Regions from separate parts of the Homo sapiens genome. Here regions 2 and 3 are each linked to region 1. The links are contacts of gene promoters, found by promoter capture Hi-C in human tissues and cell types (Jung and others, 2019). All regions are on one chromosome and are shown on one strand. Each heading gives the region's core, a stretch centred on a gene start or on the middle of the fragment in contact. The rest is flanking DNA. Distances are from core to core; before and after follow the strand shown. Region 1 holds the start of CEBPD (CCAAT enhancer binding protein delta). Region 2 overlaps SPIDR (scaffold protein involved in DNA repair). Region 3 overlaps SPIDR (scaffold protein involved in DNA repair).

What was found. The method cuts DNA at HindIII sites, captures the fragments that hold promoters and counts their contacts. A contact is called where the count stands out against the background at its distance.
Region 2: a contact is called between a fragment that was not itself captured here and the fragment with the promoter of CEBPD in region 1, in 2 of the 25 tissues and cell types used here (aorta and lymphoblastoid cells).
Region 3: a contact is called between a fragment that was not itself captured here and the fragment with the promoter of CEBPD in region 1, in 4 of the 25 tissues and cell types used here (adrenal gland, bladder, mesenchymal stem cells and 1 more).

What each region holds. Positions count from the first base shown.
Region 1 is chr8:47,735,774-47,740,268 of GRCh38, forward strand. CEBPD (CCAAT enhancer binding protein delta) reads right to left here and starts at 2,391. Exons shown (of 1, transcript NM_005195.4): 1 at 1,140-2,391. The coding sequence starts at 2,347. The coding sequence ends at 1,538. SPIDR (scaffold protein involved in DNA repair) reads left to right here. Exons shown (of 20, transcript NM_001080394.4): 20 at 1-533. RefSeq lists an enhancer at 1,415-2,353 and silencers at 1,750-1,939, 2,430-2,539, 2,580-2,659, 2,750-3,219. The HindIII fragment of the contact is 24,041 bases long and covers 1-4,495 here.
Region 2 is chr8:47,684,634-47,689,128 of GRCh38, forward strand. The region is part of intron 11 of SPIDR (scaffold protein involved in DNA repair); the gene reads left to right. Among named protein-coding and RNA genes, the nearest start is that of CEBPD, 51 kb to the right of the region's middle. The HindIII fragment of the contact is 4,038 bases long and covers 568-4,495 here.
Region 3 is chr8:47,701,951-47,706,445 of GRCh38, forward strand. It overlaps SPIDR (scaffold protein involved in DNA repair), which reads left to right. Exons shown (of 20, transcript NM_001080394.4): 14 at 6-65. Among named protein-coding and RNA genes, the nearest start is that of CEBPD, 34 kb to the right of the region's middle. The HindIII fragment of the contact is 6,895 bases long and covers 1-4,495 here.

The sequences.
Region 1 (4,495 bases), core at 1,141-3,640:
TAACAAGTTGAACATTTTACCATGATTGAACATGTTTTTATTACAGTATTTAACATTCCCCCAAAGAATACCCTGCAAAGTGTAAACCTTTGTCCCATACTGTGATATTACTGTTCTGCTACAATAAATGTCAAACCTAAGCACTTTGCAGTTCACTACTTTTGGGAAAATGTTCTAGGGAACTGTATCACAGGTGAAACTGTTACCCATAAAGTGTAGCTCTCTGAACTGGTGTGATCGTGTCTCTGCTGAATGGTGGTGGGGATAGCTGGCTCCACCACACACACCTGTTTTAATTAGGCTGGGTAATGTGCACGGAGAGCAAAGATCACAGACTAAGGAGCAGTCAGTCGGATATTTGCTTTGCTGGCAAAGATTTAAACCAAGAATTAATTATCTTTGGACACTATAAAGATTTTGTTCCCTTCCTTATAGCAATATAATCATGACAGGCCATGGTTAACTACATCAGATACACGTAGCAGCCGTGACCAAGACATGGTGCCCTAATACCAAGTGTTCTTGGGTTAAAGGCAGGCGGCTTTTTAATTAAATCTTAAAGCACTGCAATTACTGGCAAGACAGCTGGTCTTAAGCAGTTTTGTGACTGCCCTTTTCATCCACTACATGACTATTCCGGCCTTTCTGGAGCACTTTTGAAAATCTACTTGACTCTGTCCACAAGACTGAGGAAAGTGAAAGCAAAGTCCCGGGAAAGCGGGAGATGATTCAGCCCGGGGTTCTGCCCCTCGCCCCTCCAGCAGCCTCTACAGTTAGGGAGCTCTTGAACTGTTCTCAGCAGGGGCCCCCAAAAAGTCAACCCTTCCCCAGGTCTGCGTTCTTCGGGAGAACACCTTCTGCTGGAAAGCTGCTAGCTTACCTGAGCTCAGCCGTGCTCCACCTAGCTTAGGCAAGTTAAATAAGGCCAGGAGAGAGCCTTTAATGCGTTTTAAAAGCGACAGACCCTCTCTCCTGAGTAGCTCGGGCCTGCGCCCCATCCCCCCGCCCCCCCCACACACACACCTGGCGCCCGGGCTCCCTGGTGCTCGCTGGCTGCGGGTCCGGAACGCACCCTTCCCGAGCCGGGTCCTGCGCCACCGGCGGGCGGGCGGGAGTCACTGCGAATATAGGAAGCAGGGGCGATTTCAAATGCTGCTTTATTCTTACAAATACTGTAAAAATTAATATAAAAAAGTGAGCATGCTCAGTCTTTTCCTCTTATCTACAATACAAAGGGTTTGTCTGAAAAGTCTGGTTTTTTTTCTTTTTACAAATGTACCTTAGCTGCATCAACAGGAGTAAGATGTAGAAAAAGCTACCATTACAAAAATAATTTAAGGGAAAATAAACACGTTTAGCTTCTCTCGCAGTTTAGTGGTGGTAAGTCCAGGCTGTAGCTTCTTTGCGCTCCTATGTCCCAAGAAACTGCAGCGGGCACCCGGCGGCTCTGGCTGCGCCAGGGCAGGGCGCGCTCCGCTCCGGGCCGTCGGGTCTGAGGTATGGGTCGTTGCTGAGTCTCTCCCGCCCCGGCCGCGCGTTACCGGCAGTCTGCTGTCCCGGCGGCCGGCAGGAAGGGCGGGCTGGGCAGCTGCTTGAAGAACTGCCGGAGGCCGGCCAGGTCCCGCGTGAGCTGCTCCACGCGCTGGTGCAGCTTCTCGTTCTCAGCCGACAGCTCCACCAACTTCTGCTGCATCTCCTGGTTGCGCCGCTTGGCCTTGTCGCGGCTCTTGCGCACGGCGATGTTGTTGCGCTCGCGCCGCTGCCGGTACTCGGGGCTGCCGCGGTCCGGGCCCCTCTTGCCGGCGCTCTTCTCCCGGGCGGGGCCGGGCGCGGGGGTCTGCCTGGGGCTGCTGCGCGGCGGCTCCGGCGACGTGGGCGGGGTGGGCTGCCCTGCGGCCGCCAAGCTCACCACGGTCTGTGCGCACGCGGCCACCTGCGCGGGCAACAGCGAGCCGGGCGCGTCGCCGTCGCCCCAGTCGGGCTCGCGCTTGAGCAGGCGGGGAGCGGCAGGGCCCGGGCCCAAGGGGCGCGCGGGGCCGCCGGGAAGAAGCTCCAGGGGCCCCGCGCCGCCCGCCTTGTGATTGCTGTTGAAGAGGTCGGCGAAGAGCTCGTCGTGGCACAGCTCCAGGGTGGGCACGGCGGCCATGGAGTCGATGTAGGCGCTGAAGTCGATGGCGCTCTCGTCGTCGTACATGGCGGGGGCGGCGGCGCCTGGCTCGCCTAGGGCCCCTGGCTCGGCCCCGCGGCCCGGCTTGCCCGCCCGGCCCGGTTCGTAGAAGGGCGCAGGCTCCGCAGGCCAGGGCGCGCCGCGCGCCGGGCCGTCCAGGCTGAAGAGCGCGGCGCTCATGGCGGCGTCGGGCCGGGCTCTGCGTCCAAGCGAGGCTGTCACCTCGCTGGGCCCAGCCCCGCCGCCTTTTCTAGCCCCGGCTGACGTGCACGCCCCGCCCCGACTCCGGCACCGCGGGGGCGCCCCGGGGCCGCGGGGGAAGGGGCGGGGGCGCCCTGGGAGCCCCCCGGAGCCGCCCCGAGCCTTCCCGGGGCGCGCCCCCTCTCAGTTCCTCCCCGGGGCCCCCTCCCCGGCCCTGGGGACCCCCAGCCCACGTTGCAGGAGGGTGCCCGCGCTGCTGCTCCCTCCCCGGCCCGGGCCGGCCTGCGCTGCGCTGCTGGGAATGACACTCCCTCTGCCAGCACTCCAGGGCCTTCTCTTCTTCCTGTTTGTGGGCTTGGAACCTCCTCGCTCCTCGGGGTTGGGAGTGAAATCAAAACCAGGACTTGGCCGCAGCGCGCGCGTCCCAGGCCGGCTCCTGTCGCCGGAGGGCGGGGGGTGGAGACCCGTGGGAGAGGACCCGCGCGTCCAAGGACGCCCCCCGACCGTGGGCACGCGCGTGAGGCCCTCGCCCCGCGCCTCCACCGTGGGACCAGATGCGGGAAGAGGCGTGGGGGACCAGACGTGGGGACAGCGGCGGCCTGGCAGGCGGGGAGGGCTGCCCGCACCGCACTCGGGCGCCTCGGGGAATCCGGGCCGGTTCTCGCTGCTCTCCTCGGAGGTCCCGGGTCCGGCCGGCCCTGGGGGTCGAGGCCCAGAGACGCGGCTGCTGCGTCCTGGCCGAAAGGCCGACGGGACGCTGTCGCCAAAAGCAGAGCAGATGGGGGAGACGCGGTCACGACACCGCGTCCTCCGCCGGCTCCTCGAGGTGCGGGCTCTCCGGCCGGACGCTACTCCCCGACCCCGCAGACCCGGGCGTCCGCCGCCAGCTCCCGCGCCCGCGTTTCTTCCAGGTCTACGGAAGCAGTGCCATCGTGTGGCGGCATCTTGCGTTAGACCTGTTTTTAGTTCCAGGCTCTTTCCCTGTTAAATATTCCAAAAAAGTGCCTTGAACCTAAAGTAGTTGGGTCCTTTTTGGGAAACAGGTAAGATCTACCAGTAGCTATAGCAGGGTGCAGATGGGCCTCGACTCACGATGGGGTTACATCCCGGTAGACCCATCGCACACTGAAAATGTCTTAAGTAAGAATGGGCTTTGTCATGTGTCCTGCAATTTGAGGCAGGCATTTCTGGTCAGACCCATTTATTATTTTAAATTAAAAATATGGTTTTTTTCAGCCGAGCACAGTGGCTCATGCCGGTAATCCCAGCATTTTGGGAGGCTGAGGTGGGCGGATCACTTGAGGTCAGGAGTTTGAAACCAGCCTGGTCAACATGGTGAAACCCCATTTCTACTAAAAATACAAAAATTAGCCAAGCGTAGTGGCGTGCGCCTGTAATCCCAGCTACTCGGGAGGCTGAGGCAGGAGAATCGCTTGAACCCGGGAGGCGGAGGTTGCAGTGAGCCGAGATCGTTCCATTGCACTCCAGCCTGGGCGACAGAGCGAGACTCCATCTCAAAAAAAAAATTGAGATGGGATCTCACAATATTGTCCAGGCTGGTTTCAAACTCCTGGGCTTAAGAGATTCGCCGGCCTCAGCCTCCCAAAGTGCTGGGATTACAGGCGTGAGCCACCATGTCGGGCCCAAATCCATTAAATCACTATCGCTAGTCACACCTGCTCCATGTCGAGTCTCTTCCTGCGCAGGCCTCTCACCAGATCTGCGTCGGAACACCAAGCTCTACTAACTGCTGTGCAGTTTCTGCAGTCAGTTCCAGAGGTCATTTCTAACGTTGCACTATGGGATATTTAATAGGTTTCCTAAAGAACAAACATATTTCTTTAGAGTTACTCAGAGGGTACACAATGATGATGTCACACAATTAATTACCTATTAAGACTGAAATCCAGCAATGCATAGAGTGTGGACTTACGCACATCCAGAAAAAGTTCTAGCACAAATTGTTTTGTTCTCATATATTTCAGAAGCCATAGAAACACTATTAAAGCCCTCCCTAATCACTTAGGGAATGCAAAATCAATATTTATAAGGGATAACCATATCCTCCTAAAAACAACTCAGAGACTATTTTCAGTGAGATGATTTACTGATTCCGATAGTCAATAT
Region 2 (4,495 bases), core at 1,337-3,836, 51 kb before region 1:
TTTCCCTTCTTCCTCAGACTTTCTCTTTCTACTTAATTGAAAAAGTAGAAATCCAGCCAGCACTGACCCAAGACTTTGTTGTCTTGTTTTTACAAACAAAATGGGTAGAGGAAAGAAATCAGAAGTAATTTAGAAAAATGATACAGTTTGAAAGTGTTCCATGTTTTTCCCAAGGAAGAATATAAATCATCCAGTTGGACATTGCTAGGCATTGTCAATTACCCAATAATGGGAAGGAATGGAAATTAAGCCAGTGGGATTTGTACAGAGAGATCTAGTTAAAACAGGGATAAAAGAAACCAAATGGGCCGGGCGCCCATTACACCTGTAATCCCAGCACTTTGAGAGGCTGAGGCAGGTGGATCACCTGAGGTCAGAGGTTCGAGACCAGCCTGGCCAACATGGTGAAACCCTGTCTCTACTGAAAATATAGCCGGGCGTGGTGGCAGATGCCTGTAATCCCAGCTATTTGGGAGGCTGAGGCCGGAGAATCGCTTGAACCCTGGAGGCAGAGGTTGCAGTGAGCCAATCATGCCATTGCACTCCAGCCTGGGCAACAAGAGCAAAACTCCGTCTCAAAAAACAAACAAACAAACAAAAAACAAATGGAAGATCAGCTGATATGACAGCATAAAAACAAATACCACTTATCCCTCCAGGTTAGTAATTTAACTAGTTAATTTACCTTGCAGCACAGTAAGTCTAGAATTCAGTAAATGGGCAGGGTTTTGTTTTATTCTTTTTTTAAATCATTTCTTCTCTTAAAAATATTTCCCCCACCCTACCCTTCACTGTCCTTCTTACCACAGAAATTATAATTATCTACCAGTAGGAGGTCAGTGGTTTTATTTATTTATTTATTTATTTATTTATTTATTTATTTATTTTTTTGAGACAGTCTCTCTCTGTCGCCCAGGCTGGAGTGCATTGGCAGAGATCAGTGGTTTTAAGACTTTCAGTTTTTGTTTTTCTTTCTTTTTTTTTAATCTCTGCTCACTGCAACCTCCACCTCCCAGGTTCAAGCGATTCTCCTGTCTCAACCTCCCGAATAGCTGGGACTACAGGTGCACACCACCATGCCCAGCTAATTTTTGTATTTTTAGTAGAGACGGGGTTTCACCATGTTGCCAGTATGGTCTCAATCTCTTGACCTCATGATTTGCCCACCTCGGCCTCCCAAAGTGCTGGGATTACAGGTGTGAGCCACCGTACCTGGCCCTGTTTTTCTTTAATAGAAATCTGTTCAGGCACGATGGCTCATACCTGTAATCCCAGCACTTTGGGAGGCCAAGGCAAGAGGATCACTTGGGTGCAGGAGTTCAAGACCAGCCTCGGCAACATCTCGAGACCTGTCTATACACAAGGAAAGGGAGGGAGGGAAGGAAGGAAGCAAGGAGGAGAGAGAAGGGAAGGGGAAGGGGAAGCTTATAAAACAAATTATGTGAAGTTGTTTGTTCTGGAAGGTGGATGAGTTGGGCCACCATGGCTCCCCACCCAGCTCCTTAGGAGTCCAGCAGCATAGTCTGAAAGCATCTGTTGTGGATTAATTGCCCATATAAACATTTCACATGTTCCATAGTTCTTCTTTCTTCCTCTCGGGTTAATAGCTTGCGGCAGTAGTTGCTACCATGGGGACACTGGGTAGCAGTATGATTCAGAAGCAGAATAGAAATGTTCCTGTATTAATCTCAAATAAAAAATCCAAATATTTACTTTAAATATGCTATTATTAGCTGAATTCTCAAAATTGGAAAATCTTACAGATTTGAATTTTGGAAAAAATACTTAAATCTTTATAATTTGCCAAGAAAATCTCTGTTAATACGGGATGCTGAAAGTGGAAAGAAAAGAAAGCTTGAGTGTCACTAGAGTCACTCTATTTTTTCATTTTACCTTCAAACTAGCTAATAAATTAGATCATGGTATTTATTTTTTAGATAAGACCCTGAAGTTCACTGACATTAAGTAATTTGGATCCCTGTATGTGAGCTGGGTCTTAAGACAGGTGCACCAAATTCCAAAGTCTGATTTTCAGTACTACAGCTGACATTTAATTACTTCCAGTTTTAGGGGAATTCATTTCTATAAATTTCTCATTTGTTTTATATTTATAACCCCTGGCCCTCAAAATAAAAATCTGATTATTTCTTGTCAGTGATGTTGATATTAATTTAGATTCTTGGTATTTTCCACTGTTTTTGTTAAACAACAGCAATAAACTATCTATAGTAGGATTGTCTTGAGTAACTAGGAGTATTAAATCCATAGTAAATAATTACACTGCCTGCTTTTGGTTTAGTTAGGGTTCTTTTTTTTTTTCAAAGTTTACTTAGATACTTATTAACAAAAATAATTAGCTTTTAAAAAAGGTTAGTGCAAAAGTAATTGCAGTTTTTACCATTACTTTTAATATCATTACTTTTAGTAGTTTTCATTACTGTTAAATAAAAGCAAGATAATTTACTTCTCTTTCTCAAGCCACCAACAACGGAGTGGGTTGTGATGAAGCCATTGAACCTGGACCATACATTTGTAAAAGGCCTCAGATTAGGACTTTCAGTATGATCCATAAATGTGATAATAATATAGCCACTGTTTTGTTGGTTGTTGCTGTTAACAGAATTAACATAAATTATAACAACAATTTAATAATCTCTCTTTTACCTTTTACCCACTGGATATTTACCCCGGTAAGTAATCTTTCACATCTTTCTCCACGAATGTAGACATATCTATAAACAAAAAGATATGGTTTGCGTTTTTCACTTAATTTCACCAGGATGTCCCTCTCCTGATAGACATTCAGGTTGTTTCTGGTGTTTACCACTTCAAAGCAGTGCTGCAACACACTTCCTTGTATATCTCTGTCTGTATCTCCTGTATGTATTGAGCTTATATTTTAACCTTCTTTACTGTGAAATATAACAAGCATATGAAAGAGGGCATAATTGTAGATTGTAACAAATAATAAGTGAATAAATAAAGCTCACTCATTAAGCCACCACTGTAATTCAATAAACATGGTGGGTATCCAGAAGCCACCTGCTGCCCCTACCCTGATCCTAAAGATCTTCACACTTCTGAGAGTGTTTCCATGTTTTTCTTTACAGTTATACTACTTTTTGTACATCTTTAGAAATATATTTAGGCTGGGCACAGTGGCTCACGCCTGTAATTCCAGCACTTCGGGAGGCCAAGACAGAAGGATCACTTGAGGCCAGGAGTTTGAGACCAGCCTGGGCAACATAGTGAGGCCTTATCTCTACAAAAAGTAAAAAATTAGCCGAGTGTGGTGGTGCACACTTGTAGTCCTAGCTACTTGGGAGGCTGAGATGGGAGAATCACTGGGTGACAGATTGAGACCTGGCTGTCAAAAAAAAAAAGTGTGTGTGTGTGTGTGTGTGTGTGTGTGCATGCGTATAGGTTTACCTGTTTTTGAACTTTATGGAAACAGCATCATGCTTGTGCATTCTTTGTGTTTTGCTTTTTATTTTATTTTATTTATTTATTTTTTGAGACGGAGTCTCTCTCTGTTGCCCAGGCTGGAGTGCAGTGGTGCAATCTTGGCTCACTGCAAGCCCCGCCTCCTGGATTCACACCATTCTTAGTCTCCCTAGTAGCTGGGACTACAGGCGCCCGCCACCATGCCCGGCTAAGTTTTTGTATGTTCAGTAGAGACGGGCTTTTACTGTGTTAGTCAGGATGGTCTCGATCTCCTGACCTCGAGATCCGCCCGCCTCGGCCTCCCAAAGTGCTGGGATTACAGGCGTGAGCCACCACGCCCGGCCGTGTTTTGCTTTTTTTGCTCACTAGAGATGCCGCGGCCCCAGCTGCACACAAAAGGACCCTGGTGTGGGGGACCCTTACAAAAGAGGACGGAAACAACATAGTTTTAAACCAATAAACCTTGTAAGTTTCTTCTGTCTATTGCAGGTAGCTCCGGTTTATTCGTTTTCATTCCATTTTATGCATTTACCATAGTCTCTTTGTTCATGCAGTTGTTCTAGGCATTTCCGACCACTGCTGGCAGCGGCAGGAGCCCTTGCTGTGTATCCCCTAGGGCACAGGTGTGCACATCGTGGGGGTGGGGTGTTCCTCACCTTCAATGGATAGTGCTAAACTGTCTTCCAGGAGCGGAGTTCAGCCTCCATTTCTGTTAGCATAGTAGAGTTCCTGCTGCTCTGCTGTCTTTCCATTATTTGGTACACTTAGGTGTCTTTTTCATTATCTTTTTTCTGGCCTGCATTTTTTTCAAACTGGTAGATCTGTAGTGGAATTCACTGTGGTTTAAATTCCAGTTCCTGATTACCGCTGAGGCTGAGAGCCTTTTGCTGTGTATTTCCATTTGTGTTTCCACTTTGATGAAGTGCTGTTCAAGTCTTTTGTTTATTTTTCTTTTGGGGTGTTGAGCTTTATATATTCTGAGTAGTAGTCCTTCATTGGTTGTGTATAATTTATGTGTTGTAGGTGGCTTGTCTTTTTATCGGCAGAAGTA
Region 3 (4,495 bases), core at 540-3,039, 34 kb before region 1:
TCCAGATGAATGATCTTGGTACCCGTTGCAGTTTCTATGCCACGGTGATTTACCAAAAACCACAGGTAATAATCTCTCTCAATCTCTCAATCTCTCAGCCTTTCTCTCTCTCTCTCTCTCTCTCTCTCTCTCTCTCTCTCTCTCTCTTACACACACACACACACACACACACACACACACACACACGGTGTTAGAGGTTTATTAAAGGGTAATCTCCTTTGGAAATTAATGCATTGCCAAAACAGAGAAGTGTTTTTAAAGTCCAGTTAAGCATGCCCCATATACTGAAGTGGCAGTAAATCCATTCCTTTTACAGATGCAGACTACCAGCCACTGTGCTAAGCACTGGGGTGTAAGACACCCAGGTACAACCCTGTCCCCAAAGCTTCTCAGCCCAGTAATGTTCATTCTTTCCCGACACTTAGGCAGGTTGAAGAAAGGAAAGAGATGGAGAAACCTCATTTATGTGGTAGAAGTGGGAATCTCAGGATCGAGCTCAGCTACTTCTGGGAACTTTTAGAGCCTTCAAAACTGAAAGCCCCCCCATCCCACCTCCATGGTCCCTGTGAGGCCTTGGGCTGTTCTAGGGAGCAGTGGCCTAGAGGAGCTTGCTATCAATCAACTAGGAGTAGAGGAGGGAAGGAGACCTGCTTGCCAGTTTGAATGCATGGACTACATTCTGCTAGAAACCTCTGCCAGCCCTTACCTTATGGAGGAATATCCATGTAGATCTAATCACCCAAGAGGGATTGAGAACATCCTGTTTGTTAAACTCTTGTCCACTCATGGGCAATGTGCACCGGGTGCATCTGCCATGGTGCAGGAGAGAGTGAGTGCCCCACACATTGCCTCCTTGAGGGTGTGTATGAGTGGAGCAAACCAGGCCCCAGATGCCTGCACTCACCTGGGCTGTCGGTGGATCACCAGCTACCAGCCAGGCCAGAATACTCAGGAATTGCCCAGCAAGCAGTCTCAAGGGAGGGCAGGAGGCTGGCACCTTGGCCAGCAACCTCGGCCAGGTGCCCCAGTGCACCACGAGTCGGGGGACAGTGGTGGGGGTGGCACCAGGGGCTGTCTTCTAATCATACTATGCCTGGTTATCAAGATCTGACACTCACACCCCTCACTTTTCTTTTTGTTGCTGAAGTATGCTAAAGCACACCCAGACCTCATGCCATTTCACCCCGACACGCTTGTTAGGAATCTCTTCAAAGCATTCATGGTTGCATACAACCCAATTCAGCTGCCTGGTTTTGGAGCCTTTCTCTTCCGCTTAAGTTATCCAGAGTTATTTTCTGTTGTGCATTTATTTTGAACAAATTCTTTGCATTTCTCTGATCATTCTTCGACAGTGGAAGAATAAGAGAGTGACTAAAAGAATATGTTTCATAACTTCTAGTCAAGTTCTTGATGAATTGCATATATACGAGTATCATTAAATCAGTGTTATCACAAGCATGTTAAATCAACTTCTCTTCCATCTGCATCAGGGGTAGTGGGCAGACTGTTTCTGTAAAGAGCCAGATAGTCAATATTTTAGGCTTCTTGGGTTGTATGGTTTTCATAGCAACTACTCAGCTCCACCTTGCAGTGCAAAAGCAGCCATGTTGTCATTCACAAATGAATGAGCAGGGCTGTGTTTCAGAAACCTTTATTTACAGACACCAAAATTTGAATTTAACTTAATTTTTACTTGTCACAAAATATTCTTACGGTTTTTTAACCATTTAAAAATGTAAGAACCTTGAATAAACATAAAAACCATACTTAGCTTACAGGCCTAGCCCACAGGCCATGGTTTGCTGACGTTCTTCAGGTGCTGAGCATGGCTGGAGGACACAGGAACTCTGACGCAGAAAGAAAAACAACCCAAGTGTCTCCTGGTGTCCCGTAGGTTGTACTGAATGCACAGTGCGGTGTGTGTCAGGGAGAGGAGACGGGGAGGGCCATCTACTGACGGCCACCGAGTAGGATGCAAGCTTGTTACCTAAGGATGCCATAGGTGCTGCGCAAGAACACAGCGCTGATACATATGATCGTCATATGAAAGTACTTTAAGGCTTTATCTCAATTTAATTTTTACATTTCAGATGTAAGGAGTGTGCTTTAGGTGATATGTTAGTAACTGTCAATTGCGTTTCCTTTCCTTCTCTGCAGAAAGTGTGTGTGTGTTTCTGCAGCTTAACCTGTGGATTAGCTAGTGCTTGCCAGCACATAGAGTCTTGCCCACAGAAAGGAAATCAGAGGGCTGAGTTGTGAATATAAACGAACCACATTTAGCTCTTTATTTTTTATTATCAATACTTCACCACCTTTAATTCTGTCAGAGATTTTTCAGATTTTCAAACCATTCTCATGTACATATCATTTTATCTCAGCAGCAATAGTGTCACTGTTCCTAATTCCAAGTGGAGAAGACCAAGGCTAGGCCTGGTTATCTGCTGTCTCTGATACACACAACCAAACCCTGGTGGAGCCTGGTGTGGGTTTCCTGACTCTTACTCAGCCCAGTGTCCCCTGGTGCTTCCTGGCTCCACGGTCCCTCAGTTACCTGGTGCCCTGGGGGTGGGGCAGGGACGCAACACACCCCCACCCCCAACCACATGCTGACTGAGCTTGTGCAGGTACTTCACCGCGTTGTCTCATGTCCTTGTCTGTCAAATGGGTGTAACATTCTCTCACCATATTGGATTGTTCTAGGATGAATTTAGGAGTTTTGAAATACCCTTTTTCCTTTGTTTTCTCTTCATCTGTTCCCCTTTTCATCATTTGACAGCTGATCAGTGCCTCTCATGAAGAAATGGAGAATGATTGGCATGAGTCCCTCAGTGGTGCTCCCTGTGAGCACCCCAGTGTCCGGCTCAGGAGATAGGAGGATAGGGCTCCCAGCAAGGACGAGGCAGGGCACGTGCTATGTCCCATACTTTCCAAGCCTGAGGAGACCTAAGACTGACTTCACGCTCCTCTGCCTACCTTGAGAGGGGTCAGTGTGTGTAGGGATGCCCCTGGCATCTGGCACATTCCTGCTCTTCTGGGTCATGGGCCAGGCGGTGGCTCTCTGTGCAGGTGCCTTTCACCCATAGGGAGAATGCTGTCCTCAGAGCAGCCACGTGGCAGTTGCAGCTAACACTCCTGCCCACGGCCCTCTGGCTGAGACCGAGGTTGAAAGTAAAGAAAGCAGGTGTCAAAATGCTTGCACCAAAGCCAGTTGGAGGGGAGCTCTGGGGCAGAGAAAGACCAAGAGTGAAGCAGGTCATCCACCTTGCCCTGTGAAGGGGTCCTCCCTCAGGGAGGTAGAGAAGATAATGTTAATCCCCTCCTATCCAAGAAACAGGCTCCCACCAGTGCCAAGTGCAGCTTTCAGTGAGCATGGCTTCCAGTGGGCATGTGTGCCTAGGAATCAGTAGTCCTATAGCCACAAAACAGTCAAAGACCTGGAACCCAATGGAACAGGTTCCATGATCCACTGAAATTCTGTCTGTCTCCTATAGTCTGCTTTTGTGTGTAAAAGAATCACCAGAAACCAGCTGTCTCAAGAAGGAATAGAAATAAGCTGACTCCTGGGGCCAGTCCGTAGTTAAGCCAGTGGCCTGCATCCTTGGCAGTGAGGGTTGACTTTCAGAATGGCACCATGAGTCATTGCTGGAACTCCAGTCATAAAAACAGACCCAGACTAGGCGTGGTGGCTCACGCCTGTCATCCTAGCACTTTGGGAGACTGAGGCTAGAGGATCTCTTGAGGCCAGGAGTTCCAGACCAACCTGGTCAACAAAGCACGACCCCGTCTCTACAAAAAAATTAAAAATTAGCCAGGCATGGTGCTGCATGCCTATCATCTCAGCTACTTGGGAGGCTGACATGGGAGGATCCCTTGAGCCCAGGAGGTTGCTGCAGTGAGCTGTGATTGCACCACTCCACTCCAGCCTGGCTGACAGAGTGAGACCCTGTCTCAAAAAAAAAAAAAGCAGATTCAGTTGTATTTCCGTTACACTAATGACTAAGTCATGAAGGTGAAAAAGATAGTTTTCATATTTAACTTTTATTTTGTAATAATTATAGTTTCACAGTAGATTGCAAAGAAATACACGGGGGGTCTGGTGCACCCCTCCACCCCCATGTCAATATCCCACACCCACAGTAACCACAGTAAAAACCAAAACCAGCTGGGCGCGGTGGCTCACACCTGTAATCCCAGAACTTTGGGAGGCCAAGGCGGGTGGATCACAAGGTCAGGAGATTGAGACCATCCTGGCTAACATGGTGAAACCCTGTCTCTACTAAAAATACAAAAAAATTAGCCGGGCGTGGTGGCAGGCGCCTGTAGTCCCAGCTACTTGGGAGGCTGGGGCGGGAGAATGGTGTGAACCTGGGAGGCGGAGCTTGCAGTGAGCCAAGACCACGCCACTGCACTCCAGCCTGGGCGACAGAGTGAGACTCTGTCTCAACAACAACAACAACAAAAAACAAGAAACTGACACAGGAACAATCCATGGAGC